Regions from separate parts of the Homo sapiens genome. Here regions 2 and 3 are each linked to region 1. The links are contacts of gene promoters, found by promoter capture Hi-C in blood cells and fetal thymus (Javierre and others, 2016). All regions are on one chromosome and are shown on one strand. The core of a region is centred on a gene start or on the middle of the fragment in contact, and the rest is flanking DNA. Distances in the headings are between cores, read along the strand shown.

Evidence for each region. The method cuts DNA at HindIII sites, captures the fragments that hold promoters and counts their contacts. A CHiCAGO score of 5 or more calls a contact.
Region 2: a contact is called between a fragment that was not itself captured here and the fragment with the promoter of USP32 in region 1, in 5 of 17 cell types (total B cells, naive B cells, endothelial precursors and 2 more). The highest score is 9.0, in total B cells.
Region 3: a fragment that was not itself captured here is called in contact with the fragment with the promoter of USP32 in region 1 in 14 of 17 cell types (endothelial precursors, fetal thymus, naive CD8 T cells and 11 more); the score reaches 11.2 in endothelial precursors.

What each region holds. Positions count from the first base shown.
Region 1 is chr17:60,390,089-60,393,831 of GRCh38, reverse strand. It overlaps USP32 (ubiquitin specific peptidase 32), which reads left to right and starts at 1,699. Exons shown (of 34, transcript NM_032582.4): 1 at 1,699-1,950. The coding sequence starts at 1,893. RefSeq lists silencers at 1,229-1,548, 1,659-1,878, 1,909-1,968 and an enhancer at 1,143-1,984. The HindIII fragment of the contact is 3,969 bases long and covers 309-3,743 here.
Region 2 is chr17:60,089,247-60,092,989 of GRCh38, reverse strand. No RefSeq gene overlaps it. Among named protein-coding and RNA genes, the nearest start is that of HEATR6-DT, 12 kb to the right of the region's middle. RefSeq lists an enhancer at 3,439-3,648. The HindIII fragment of the contact is 348 bases long and covers 1,619-1,966 here.
Region 3 is chr17:60,131,693-60,135,435 of GRCh38, reverse strand. LOC100996660 (a long non-coding RNA gene) reads left to right here. Exons shown (of 3, transcript NR_187530.1): 1 at 1-680; 2 at 2,924-3,000. Among named protein-coding and RNA genes, the nearest start is that of CA4, 16 kb to the left of the region's middle. RefSeq lists an enhancer at 61-120. The HindIII fragment of the contact is 3,054 bases long and covers 509-3,562 here.

The sequences.
Region 1 (3,743 bases), core at 450-2,949:
ATGCCTGTAATCCCAACTACTCGGGAGGCTGAGGCAGGAGAGTCGCTTGAACCAGAGAGGCAGAGGTTGCGGTGAGTCGAGATCGCGCCATTGCACTCCAGCCTGGGCAACAGGGGTGAAACTCCGTCTCAAAAAAAAAAAAAAGAAAAACACAGAATATTACCTTCTTTCTCTAGCAGGGTATATTAGAATCTGTTGGTTTTAGGAACTAATAACCTTTCCCTGGCCCTAAATTACCTAACCGGCACCTTGGGTCCAATCTAATCCAAATGGTTACTTTTTCAATATTGCTTCCTTTTCCAGAAGCTTTATTCCGTGACTTTTAGGTTGAAGACGCAAACTAAATAAGAGTTGAAAATCAAGGAACTAAATAATAATTCCACTGTACATATACACCCCATTTGGTTTCTCCATTTATGGTTTCCTATAGGTTGTGTTCACCTTTTGGCTCTCGTGAATAATGCTGCTATAAACACGGGGGCACAAATACCTGTTCACATCCCTGCTTTTCATTCTTTGGGAAATGGAGAGGTGGAGTGGGAGAGTCAGTCACATGCTGCCACACCATGAACCTGGAAGGCACGATGCCAAGTGAAATAAGCCAGTCACAAAAGAGAAAGTCTGCAGAGTTCCACTCAGAGGAAATACTTAAGAGTAGTGAAATTGATAGTAGGACAGCGGTTGCCACGGACCAGTGGGAGGGGGATTGGGGAGTTACCGTTTAATAGGCACAGAGTTTCCCTTTTGCAAGATGAAAAACGGTGGGAAATGGGACGTGGCAATGGATGCAAAACAATATCAATGTTCTTAACGCCACTGAACTCACTTAGAAATTGTGAAAATGGTACATTTTGTTACGTATATTTTACCACAGATTAAAACGACTCCACGCTAAGCCTTGTAGCCCTCATGTTTCTCGGGGAGAAACTCTGGGAGAGAGGATAAGCCTTTTGCACAGCGCTTTCCAGAGAATGTGTACAAGAGGCATGGTCAGGAGGAGAAGGTGGGCCGGGCAGGCGAGATGACCCGAAAAGGCAGATCCACTTCGTTAACAAGGTCCACTTTCCTCAGGGATCTCCCGCTAGGTGTGAGCATTCTTTTGTCACAGGAAAGCCTTGAGATTCTCCTTTCCTTTCACAACGCCCTCCCAGTCAAAGACGTCCCTAAGGTTGGGAGCTCCCTGCCTACCCACTCCTTTCTCTTCTGAGCCATATGCCGCATCCCTCAGAACCCCATTCCCTAAGATTCTGCGGTCTTCCATGTTAGGTCCCGGCAACTGCCACACTAACCGTCAGCTGCTCGGACCCCACCCGCCGAACGCCAGAACATGTGGGCGCGGGGGCGGGGGGGGTCGTCCTCAAGCGCCCCGGAAGTCACCACCCCCCGTCGCCAGCGGAGGCGCCCGGGCGGGGCGCGCGGCTGCGATTGGCGGGAAGATGGGACGATGCGTTACGTGCGGAGATGCGTCCCCCTCCCCGGCGCTCCTGCGCGCGGTTAGCTTGGGGAGGGGCGGAGCGTGCGGCCCTGGGCGGCCGTTACCGGGAACAGTGTCTGGCCTCGGGTCCCGTGACCCTCGGCGGAGCTGGCGGGAGGGGGCGGAAGTGGCAAGAGGGCGTGAGGAGGGAAGGAGAGGGAGGAGAGAGAGGAGAGAGAAGGGCGGAGTAGGAGGCAGGGGAAGGGGGCGGGGCGGAAGAGTCACGTGATCCGGCATGGAGGCGGTGGCGGCGACCGGGAGGAGCCGCCGGGGCAGAAGCCGCACTTGTTAGTGTGGGGGGAGGTGGGGGCGGGGGACGCCGACACCGTCACCGTCACCCAGGGACGCCGAGGAGAAGGCGGGAGGGGGGTGGGGGCGAGATCAGGCTCCGACCCCCCGCCGAGGGGATGAGGGGAGCATGGGTGCCAAGGAGTCACGGATCGGATTCCTCAGCTACGAGGAGGCGCTGAGGAGAGGTGAGGGGGGAGGGGTCTGGGCGAGCTGCCTGGGAGGCCCGCGACGGGCAGCCTGGAGGGTGGGTAACCGGGAGGGAGAGGGGAGATTGAGGGCGTGGGGCGCCTGAGGCGGAAGGGAAAGGCGGCCGGCCTTGGGGAGTGTGGTGGAGGAGAGAGGTCGGGTGGGAAGCAGCGTTTGGGAATTAGGGCCGTTTGGAAAGGGGCTTGTCCTGAGAGAGGGGGATCGGCGCTGGCAGGGCAGTGCCCGTGCTCGCTGGTGGCGTTGTGATCCTGGATGTGTCCAGGGAAGTCCTCTCCCCGTTTTCTTGGGCGGCTCCAGCCCATCCAGCCCCCCTCATCCTTCATTGCCATTTTCTCCTATCATTCCTTCATAAAAACCTCAAATAACATCCTAACCTCGTTCCTAACAGCCTTAGCTGGAAGGGGACGAGGAGGCGGCTGCAAAGCGCTCCTCTCTGCTACTGGAAGCCCCTTCGTATCTGGGGAGTCCCTGCCTTTTCCCAGAGCCTATGCCTGTCTCTTGAGGGCTGTGGCCATCCGCTTCTGCCACCCTTCACCGTTTGAGCGGCTGACTTTGATAAGAACGATCTGAAATGAAGTTGTGTTTGAGGTGAGATGAGACTGGACAGCTGGCGTTGGCACCAGACCTTGTCTTAGGTTTCATCTCCTCCGACGTTGACCAAAGCCTTTGACTGCACTTGATGCCCAGTTCTCGCTCCATCCCTCTCCATGAAATGGCATTGGGAAGTCCAGCATTCAGATATTGTGTTAAATCTCCCTTTAGAGACTGGCCTGGCTGCCAGTCCCGGCCTGCTGCTTATTGGCTCTGAGGCACAGTATATTGTTGGCAGCCCCAACCCCCTACCACTCACTCTGATACCGCTGTCCATGATCACTAAAGCACACACTAACTGGAAGTGTCTTGTTGCACAGTTTATGGCCGGAATGTCTTAATTTTTCATGACTGGGATTTCAGTGTGTGTAGATCTGTGTATGCTTGTATTTCTTTTAGACATTTAATGGATATTCTTGGTAAGAAGTGAAAAAACATTAAGAAGATTAGGAGCTAGGCATTATTGTTAACAGGTTTCCAAGTCAAGAAATCAGCCATGCTCCAGGTGGTTTTAGTAGCTAAGGATATAAAATGGTAATTAGATTAAAAGACGGGTATTCAAAATGAGGCTTGAGAAGTGAACTCTTGTTCGTATATAGGAAGAAGAGGGGTAAGTGGGTAAGTTCAGTTGACCATCACCTGACAGTAAGATACAGAATTGAGATGTATTGGTGGTGGTGGATTTACCAGAATAACACAGATATGCCTTTTATGTCTTTCTTTCTTTTTCCCTTGTGGAACAGTATAATAATTGTTTTTATGGACAATCTCATTTGAACTTTTTTTGTCTGCCCCAATATGAGAAATATTCCAAATTCTTGATGTGTTTCCAGCCCTAGTAGGCTAGTCATTTCCGGGATGCTGTTGAGCCTGACAGGTCTGGCCTCAATTAGGCAATGGCTTACATGGCATGAAAGAGGACATTAGTCAAACTGATTTACAGCTTCAAGGTTCAGAAGTGTTTCTTAAGTTTGAGGGTGTGAATACTAGTGATGTACCTGGCATTGAGAAATTCCAAAATTAAACTTGTATTCAGCTCTAGCCTGCTTAATCTCCTATCAAACTAAGATGGTACGTTTGTAAATACAAATGAAGTTAATTGCATTTTAAACTGATCTGACTGGAAGGTTTTTGTTTAATTTCTTATACAGTGTCTGCCTGTTGAATTTTAAAACACATG
Region 2 (3,743 bases), core at 543-3,042, 300 kb after region 1:
CCCTTTTGAAATCCTTAATAAAAACTTGCTGGTTTTGAGGCTTGGGCAGGCATCACGGTCCTACCGATATGTGATGTCACCCCCAGCAGCCCTGCTGTAAAATTCCTCTCTTTGTACTCTTTCTCATTATTTCTCAGCCGGCTGATACTTATGGAAAATAGAAAGAACCAACGCTGAAATACTGGGGGCGGGTTCCCCCAGTAGTTCTCATGAATCTGTCAGTCAGCTAGGGGATCAGAAGGGGGTCAGCTGATCTGTTGGTCAACTAGGGGGTCAGAAACCCAAATCTTGCTGGTTTAACTTGTTATCCCTTACTGGTTATCCCTCCCTGTGTGAAATCCAAAACTGGAGTACTTGAACAGCAAGCAGCTTTCCTCCAAGTGGTGATTCTGGGACCAGGCTCCTTCCATCTTGTAGTCTTCACCAGCTTCAACACATGGCTTCCAAGATAGCTTGCTTATGTGCTTCATGCCAGCAATAGGAAGAAGACAGTGGAAGGCTGTGCATGGGGAGCAGGGGAGTTAGGGGTCTCACACTGGAAGTGGAGTGGATCACTTCTGCTCATATTCCATTAGCTAGAACTCAATTGCATGGCTGTAGCAAACCAATGGCAAAGAAAGCTAGGAAATGTAAGCTACTGTGTCCTCAGAAAGAAGAAATGAGTCTGGTAAACAGCCAGCCAGCCTCTGCCACTCATATAGAGGCTTTCCTCCCCAGCTGTGGCTAAAGTGAAAAAGACTGACCAGCTATTTACCAAACTTAGTGGTCAAGCATTCCACAGAGTCATCCTCGTAATGTGAATGTTCTTCTGACCATTCAGAGCCTACGGAGCAGCAAAGCTGGTATTTAGAGCAGCTTTTGCAAAAGGAGAAATAAAAACTTAGATACAAAAGATGGATCAACATTTCTGAGAACCTGTAATACAAGAAGGCTTGAGTTTTTTTTTCAAGTTGGAAAGAGGAAGTAAAATGTTATTATAATCAAATATGGGATTTTCCCTACATCTGAATGTGCCAGGAGGCTTTTTACCCTAGGAAGTCTCTACTTGTTAACATTTCAGACAGTGTGACTGAATGAGGAATTCTAGATAGTTCTGTGAAGACTGGGGGAAGAAGAAAAGAGGATGCCAGTCCTTGTTCCTAGGCCAAGACCTGAGCCCTGTAATATTAATATTTGGATCTAAAATCAGGTAAACAGGGGTGTGTAAGGAAAAGTCATAAACAGTGTCATGTGAAGGAGAGAGCTTGGGATTTGAAATCAGAAAGACTTGGGGAATTAAGTTGTGTAAACCTGGGCAAACTACTGTCTCTTCGTGTGTGAAATGAAGACAACCTCTGAGAATGTTTTTGATCTTTAAAGGGGGTAGCGATAGGAGATCTGCATGTGGGGTGGGGGGTAAAATCTGGCACACAGAAGGAACTGGCCCAGTATATGCCAGTTCCTTTCTCCCTGCCCCATTTCTCTCTGTCATTCAAAGTGGCCACCATTCTTTAGAAGTCTTAATTATTAGGCAGAAGAAGCTGTTTCCCTTGGCTTAGAGAGCTTTTTTGAAAATACTTAATGCTAAACACAGGTCTATAGAATCCAGAAAGGTCAGCTTCCTACTGGGGCTTAAGCTTCCAAATACCTGTGTCATGACCCAGGATGCACATGCTGGGAGGGAAGACATAAATCATAGCCCATCTCTGCCCATCTGTGTTGTCATCAAAGGAAACTTCCCCAAGCAACATGATGTTGGGTTAAATAACTTGTCCTCAGTCATGCAGCTACTAAGTTGGAGTCAGGATCTGAGTCCAGGTGATCTGATTTCTGAGCTCAGATTCTTAGGCTTACCTGAGACACTATCTAGATCTGGTACAAGATGAAGAGGTGTAGGTGGAAGGATGCATGCCTTATATAAGATTGTGACTTTATTGACCCTCCCTTGCTAATGACTCTTTAGGCAGAATTGGTCACATACTAAGCTTCCTGACCTCCATATGGGAATCATGAGCCCGCATAGAGCCATGGAAGTGACAGTAATACTAGCTTCAGCCTTGGAGTCTCTTCATGGTTCAGTTTACAATATCCAGCAGAATAAAATAGGGACAGGTTCTGAGTTTTCTTTATCTTGAAATATTTCCTTAATTAAATTATACACTTTTGCATGAGCTGTCTGTAGATGCCCTGCTCTAGGGAATAGAAAGACATGCATCCTCTTTCTCAGAAATTCACAATAGTAGCTGCTAGTGTTGAGGGCCCTGTGCCAGGGGTATGTATGTGTACACATATTGTAATTTGGTCTGTCCAACATTGAAGTAGGAATTATACTCCCCACTTTACAGAAAAGAGAAGTGAGGCTCAGAAAGGGAAGTTAATTTTCCCAAGGTCACACAGCTAGCAAGTAGTGAAGCAGATGCGAACCAGACCCGTCACACTCCGGGGTCCTCACTCTCAGGCCACTGTGCTATACTCGGATCAGGCTTGTTTTCACAACCTCGAAACGGCCTTAGTAAACAGCCAGCAATAAGGGCCACATGCTGCTCCTCAACTCACTTAAAACCGAAGTAACAGTTTTGGGTGGATGGCACCTACTTTTAATCTGATTGAGTACTCAGAAGCCTCTAGAGTGAGTTGCTTAGCTCAAAGCAGTTATTTTGTGCTAATGAAATTGTGATTACGGGTGCCACACTAGATGAAGCAGAATTCTGTGACCTCAAAAGCTCATTTATCTGTACCCAGAGATGAGTCCAAATTATTTTCTAAGAATTTGGATGTAGCCTGACAGTAATGTGTACTAGTATAGACCACTGTCTTTGGAGTTTGACTGTGGTTCTGCCATTTAACTATTACTTGGGGCTAGTTAAACTTTCTGTGGCTTAATCTTCTCAACTGTAACGTGGCAATAATAATGCCTGTCTGTATTGGAAACCACGTGAAGTGTCTTCCTAATTACAATGGCTCTCTGAATGCTCCTCATCATCCCAAAACACACATTATTGAGGATAATAAATGCCCATTATTGAGAGCTGAGGATGAAAGATCAGTAAGACCCCATGCTAGCCAGCAAGATACAGGAGAGAAATGTAAAATGATCATAATAATTAATTACAATAGAGTCTGACAAGTCCTATGACAAAATAAGTACTAAAGAGAATGTTACTCTCCTAGGGGTGGAAGTTGAGGAAGGTTTTGGAGGTGACATTTAGGCTGGGCCTTGTTAGATAAGAAGGATTTGCAGAAAAGGTCAGTTGTTTGCCCAAAGGACTTCTAACCAATGGCATTTCAGGAACTGTGATACATGAAGTAGAACAGAGTGGGTCTCTCCCTGTAACCTCAGAGTTAGGAACCAGAAGTGAAACATCATGTACTTTAGACTTACAAGTGAAGTCTAAAGTTGACTTCACTTTAGAAAGTGGCCCAGGGGGCCTATCACAAGGTTGCAAACTTGTCTCACTACCCTCAACTAGCCCAGGTATCCTCCTTATCTCACATTATATAAGGTATCTTGTGGGACACACGACACATGGCCAAAAGTTATACATGTCTCCCTGCATCCTTGCCATTGGAGAGGGAAGAGGGTATATTTCTCCCTACCCCTGACAACATCCCCACTCCCCTGCAAAAAAAAAAACAACGGGAGTGTGTGTTTAAGAAAATCATTCATCTAGATTAGGAGTGCTACAAGGAGGGGGAAATGAAACCTCACTCCCCAGCTGGTTGGTTACTATGGTCCCGCCCCCACTCCCACCCCAGAGCTGCAG
Region 3 (3,743 bases), core at 786-3,285, 260 kb after region 1:
CTCTGTTAACAGAGTCCATTGCTAAAACTCCTCGTTAGTATTTACCACTCCTCCAGTCTGTGTTTTGAAGCAGTGGTTTTCAACCACTGCCCGTTTTCAGAAGAAATCATCTCAAGCGTCCGTGTGCTGCTAGAAGCCGGGCCGGGAGGTCTTGGTGCCGGACTCCACCCTGCAGCCCTTCCCTTTCGCCACCGCCCTGTGCTTAGAGAAACCTTAGAGTGGAGCAATGAGTCGCCCTTGACTGAGTAACTCTTCGGGGTCAACTTCTCCTTCCACGCCAAGGAAAGGATTCCAGGGCGATGTTTCTGGAAATAGAGATCTGACCAAGCCACTGCTCTGGTGAAAATTCAGTGGGTCCCTAGCACCTAGTGCAGCGGCTCCTAGCCTGAGTATTGCCGTCTTTCGGTGGGGAGGGGTTGGGTTTTTTTGTAGCATCTGTTGATCTGATCTCCAACATCCTCCACGTCAATTCCCACTCCACCCACATCCCTTATCCTATACGTAAGCTTTCCAGCCACGGTGCTGGCTTGGGTGGGGGTGCGTGCGGTGCTGACACCAAAATGGAGGTCCCGTGTTTCTGAGAGTCTCTTTCAGAGCAATGCAAACCTGAAACTACTCCTGCCAAGAAACGATTGCAGCTCTTCCCGGAAAAGTTAAAGCCTTTGAGAAACAAAGCTGAGGTGGGTAACTTAATTAAAAAAATACAGAGAGGAGTTTCAAGTAGACTAAGTGGGAAGAAAAGGAAAGAGTCTTGGGTGGGGCAGGGATTCAGGGCACCAGCTTCCTTATCGCTGAGCCTGGGGGGTGGGGGAGGAGGGGGCATGTGTTGTCACGGGAGGCATTGATAGAGCAACCTCCTTCAGGGAAAGAAAAATGGAGATAGGAAGCAGAGTGAGGAAAGGCCACAGTGGAGTCTGAGGGCTTCGGGGTGGACTTCTGGCAGGAGCCTTCTCCAGCCATGGCTTTAGGGCTGATATGGTTAGGTGCTTTGTGTCCCCACCCAAGTCTCATCTTAAATTGTAATCCCCATAATCCCCACGTGTCAAAGGAGAGACCTGGTGGAGGTAATTGAATCGTAGGGGTGGTTTCCACCATGCCGTTCTCATGATAGTGTGTGAGTTCTCAGGAAATCAGATGGTTTTATAAGGGGCTCTTCCCCCATCACTCCACACTTCTTTCTGCTGCTTTGTGAAAGAGGTGCCTTGCTTCCACTTCTGCCGTGATTGTAAGTTTCCTGAGACCTCCCTAGTCATGCAGAATTGTGAGTTAATTAAACCTCTTTCCTTTCTAACTTACCCAGTCTTGGGTAGTTTTTTGGTTTTGTTTTGTTTTGAGATGGAGTCTCACTCTGTCACCTAGGCTGGAGTGCAGTGGCGTGATCTCGGCTCACTGCAACCCCCACCTCCCAGGTTCAAGCGATTGTCCTGACACAGTCTCCTAAGTAGCTGGGATTACAGGCACACACCACCACGCCCAGCTAATTTTTGTATTTTTAGTAGAGACGGAGTTTCACCATGTTGGCCAGGCTGGTCTCCAACTCCTGACCTCAAGTGATCTGCCCACCTCGGCCACCAAAAGTGCTGGGATTACACATGTGAGCCACCGTGCCCGGCCTTTTTGTTTTGTTTTGTTTTTGAGACAGAGTCTCACTCTGTCACCCAGGCTGGAGTGCAGTGGTGTGATCTGGCTTACTGCAACCCGCACCTCCTGGGTTGAAGTGATTTTCCTGCCTCAGGCGCCCACCACCACGCCTGGCCATGGGCAGCTCTTTATAGCAGTATGAAAACAGGGTCCCTCTCGGTTGTCCTGTCTGGACTGTCAGTTCACCTGAGCTAGACTCAGGCAGGGGGCTTCCTTTGGCTTTGCTCACCTTGCTGCTGTGGGTCCACTTCAATAAGATGACAACAAAGCAGAGCTCACCTGAGGACATGCAAGAGCCCTCGTTTATGGAGCTTGCAGACTTCACAAGACTCCTAAGAATTGTTGAACGATCGCTGGTTACGGCTTCTTGAGATGGATTACTTGCTTGCTGAAGCACCTGCTTGCTTGACTGTTGCTGCCTGAATTCCTCTTTTTCCCAGGAGACCAGCTAGGGTGGGGAGAGCCTTGCTGGAGCCCTAAGCAAGGAAGGCTGATTTCCAGGGGTGTAGGCTGGCTGACACGGGTGTCACTTTGTTATAGATTAAGATATACCACATAAGCAATATGGCAAAGTTGGGGGTTTTTTTTTGTTTTGTTTTTGTTTTTGAGATGGAGTTTCGCTCTTGTTGCCCAGGCAGGAGTGCAATGGTGCAATCTGGGCTCACTGCAACCTCTGCCTCCCACGTTCAAGCAGTTCTTCTGCCTCAGCCTCCTGAGTAGCTGGGATTACTGGCATGCGCCACCACGCCCGGCTAATTTTGTATTTTTAGTAGAGACAGAGTTTCTCCATGTTGGTCAGGCTGGACTCGAACTCCCGACCTCAGGTGATCCACCTGCCTCGGCCTCTCAAAGTGCTGGGATTACAGGCGTGAGCCACCATGCCTGGCATATATGGCAAAGTTTTAACACCATTTTTTACTAAGATAAGTATCATAAAGGACTTTGTAAAGAATATATTACAACCGATCAGGCCAGTGGCTTTTTGTTTGTTTGTTTAGCAGGATTTGATTGAACCTCATCATGCTATAGATCTTCCATTCAGGGATGATGATGTGGGCATAGTTCAGTGGAGGCTGCCTGCAATGAAACTGGGCAGAGGCAAGAATCGAGAGATCAGCTTTAGCCCAGCTCCCAGGAGCACCAGAGTTAAGAAGGATATCTCCTAGAGGGAAAGCCAGAGACCAGGCAAGGGAACATACATGAACACCCAGCCTGTGCTCTGGTGTGAGGTTGCAACAGGAGTAGGATTGGTTCAATCAGCATATTTTCTTTCATGTACTAGGTTGAAAGTATTAGTCCATTTTATAGATGAAGAAATGGAGGCCCAGAGAGATCACGTGACTTAGCCAAGTCCACCAAGTGAGTAGACGGAGATGACCTGACCTCTGGAGTTCTGTCTCTAACATACCCTAGTTCTTTCTTGATTGTCCATAATATACAAACACAGTGGCCTGAGAATATTTACTCCCCTGGTCACTATTTCTTCAGCTGGAAAGGGAAACAAATTAGTAACATTTGAAAAAACAAAAACCCCAACAACTAAAAAAGTATTACTAAATGCAATGCTGTTTGAGAGAACAAACTGTCAACAAAAATAATACTTAATTCTCTGGAAGTGAAATTAATTAAAAATTCAGAGGAGATACCAGAACACTAGCTGGTAGGATTAAATAAGTGAAGGACCAGCTGGAGCAACATAGCAAGACCTCATCTCCTCAAAAACAAAAAAGAAAAGAAAATTAGGCGTGGTGGCATGTACCTGTAGTCCTACTTACTTGGGAGGCTGAGTGTCAAGGGTTGGGGGGAGAGAGGAGGATTTGGAAGTAATGACTCAGGGGGGTGGGGTTTCTTCTTGGGGTGAAATGTTGGGGATGGAAATGTTCTGAATTTAGCATGCTGGACCACATCAAGTTCAGAAGCTTCTGAACAGCGAAGGAAACAATCAATGAAGAGACCCACAGAATGAGAGAAAATATTTGCAAACCACTCATCTGAAGCTCAGATAACTCCATAGGAAAAAAATCGAATAATCCGATTTAAAAATGGGCAAAATATCTGAATAGACATTTCTCAAAAGAAGACACATATTCTACATTGAAAAA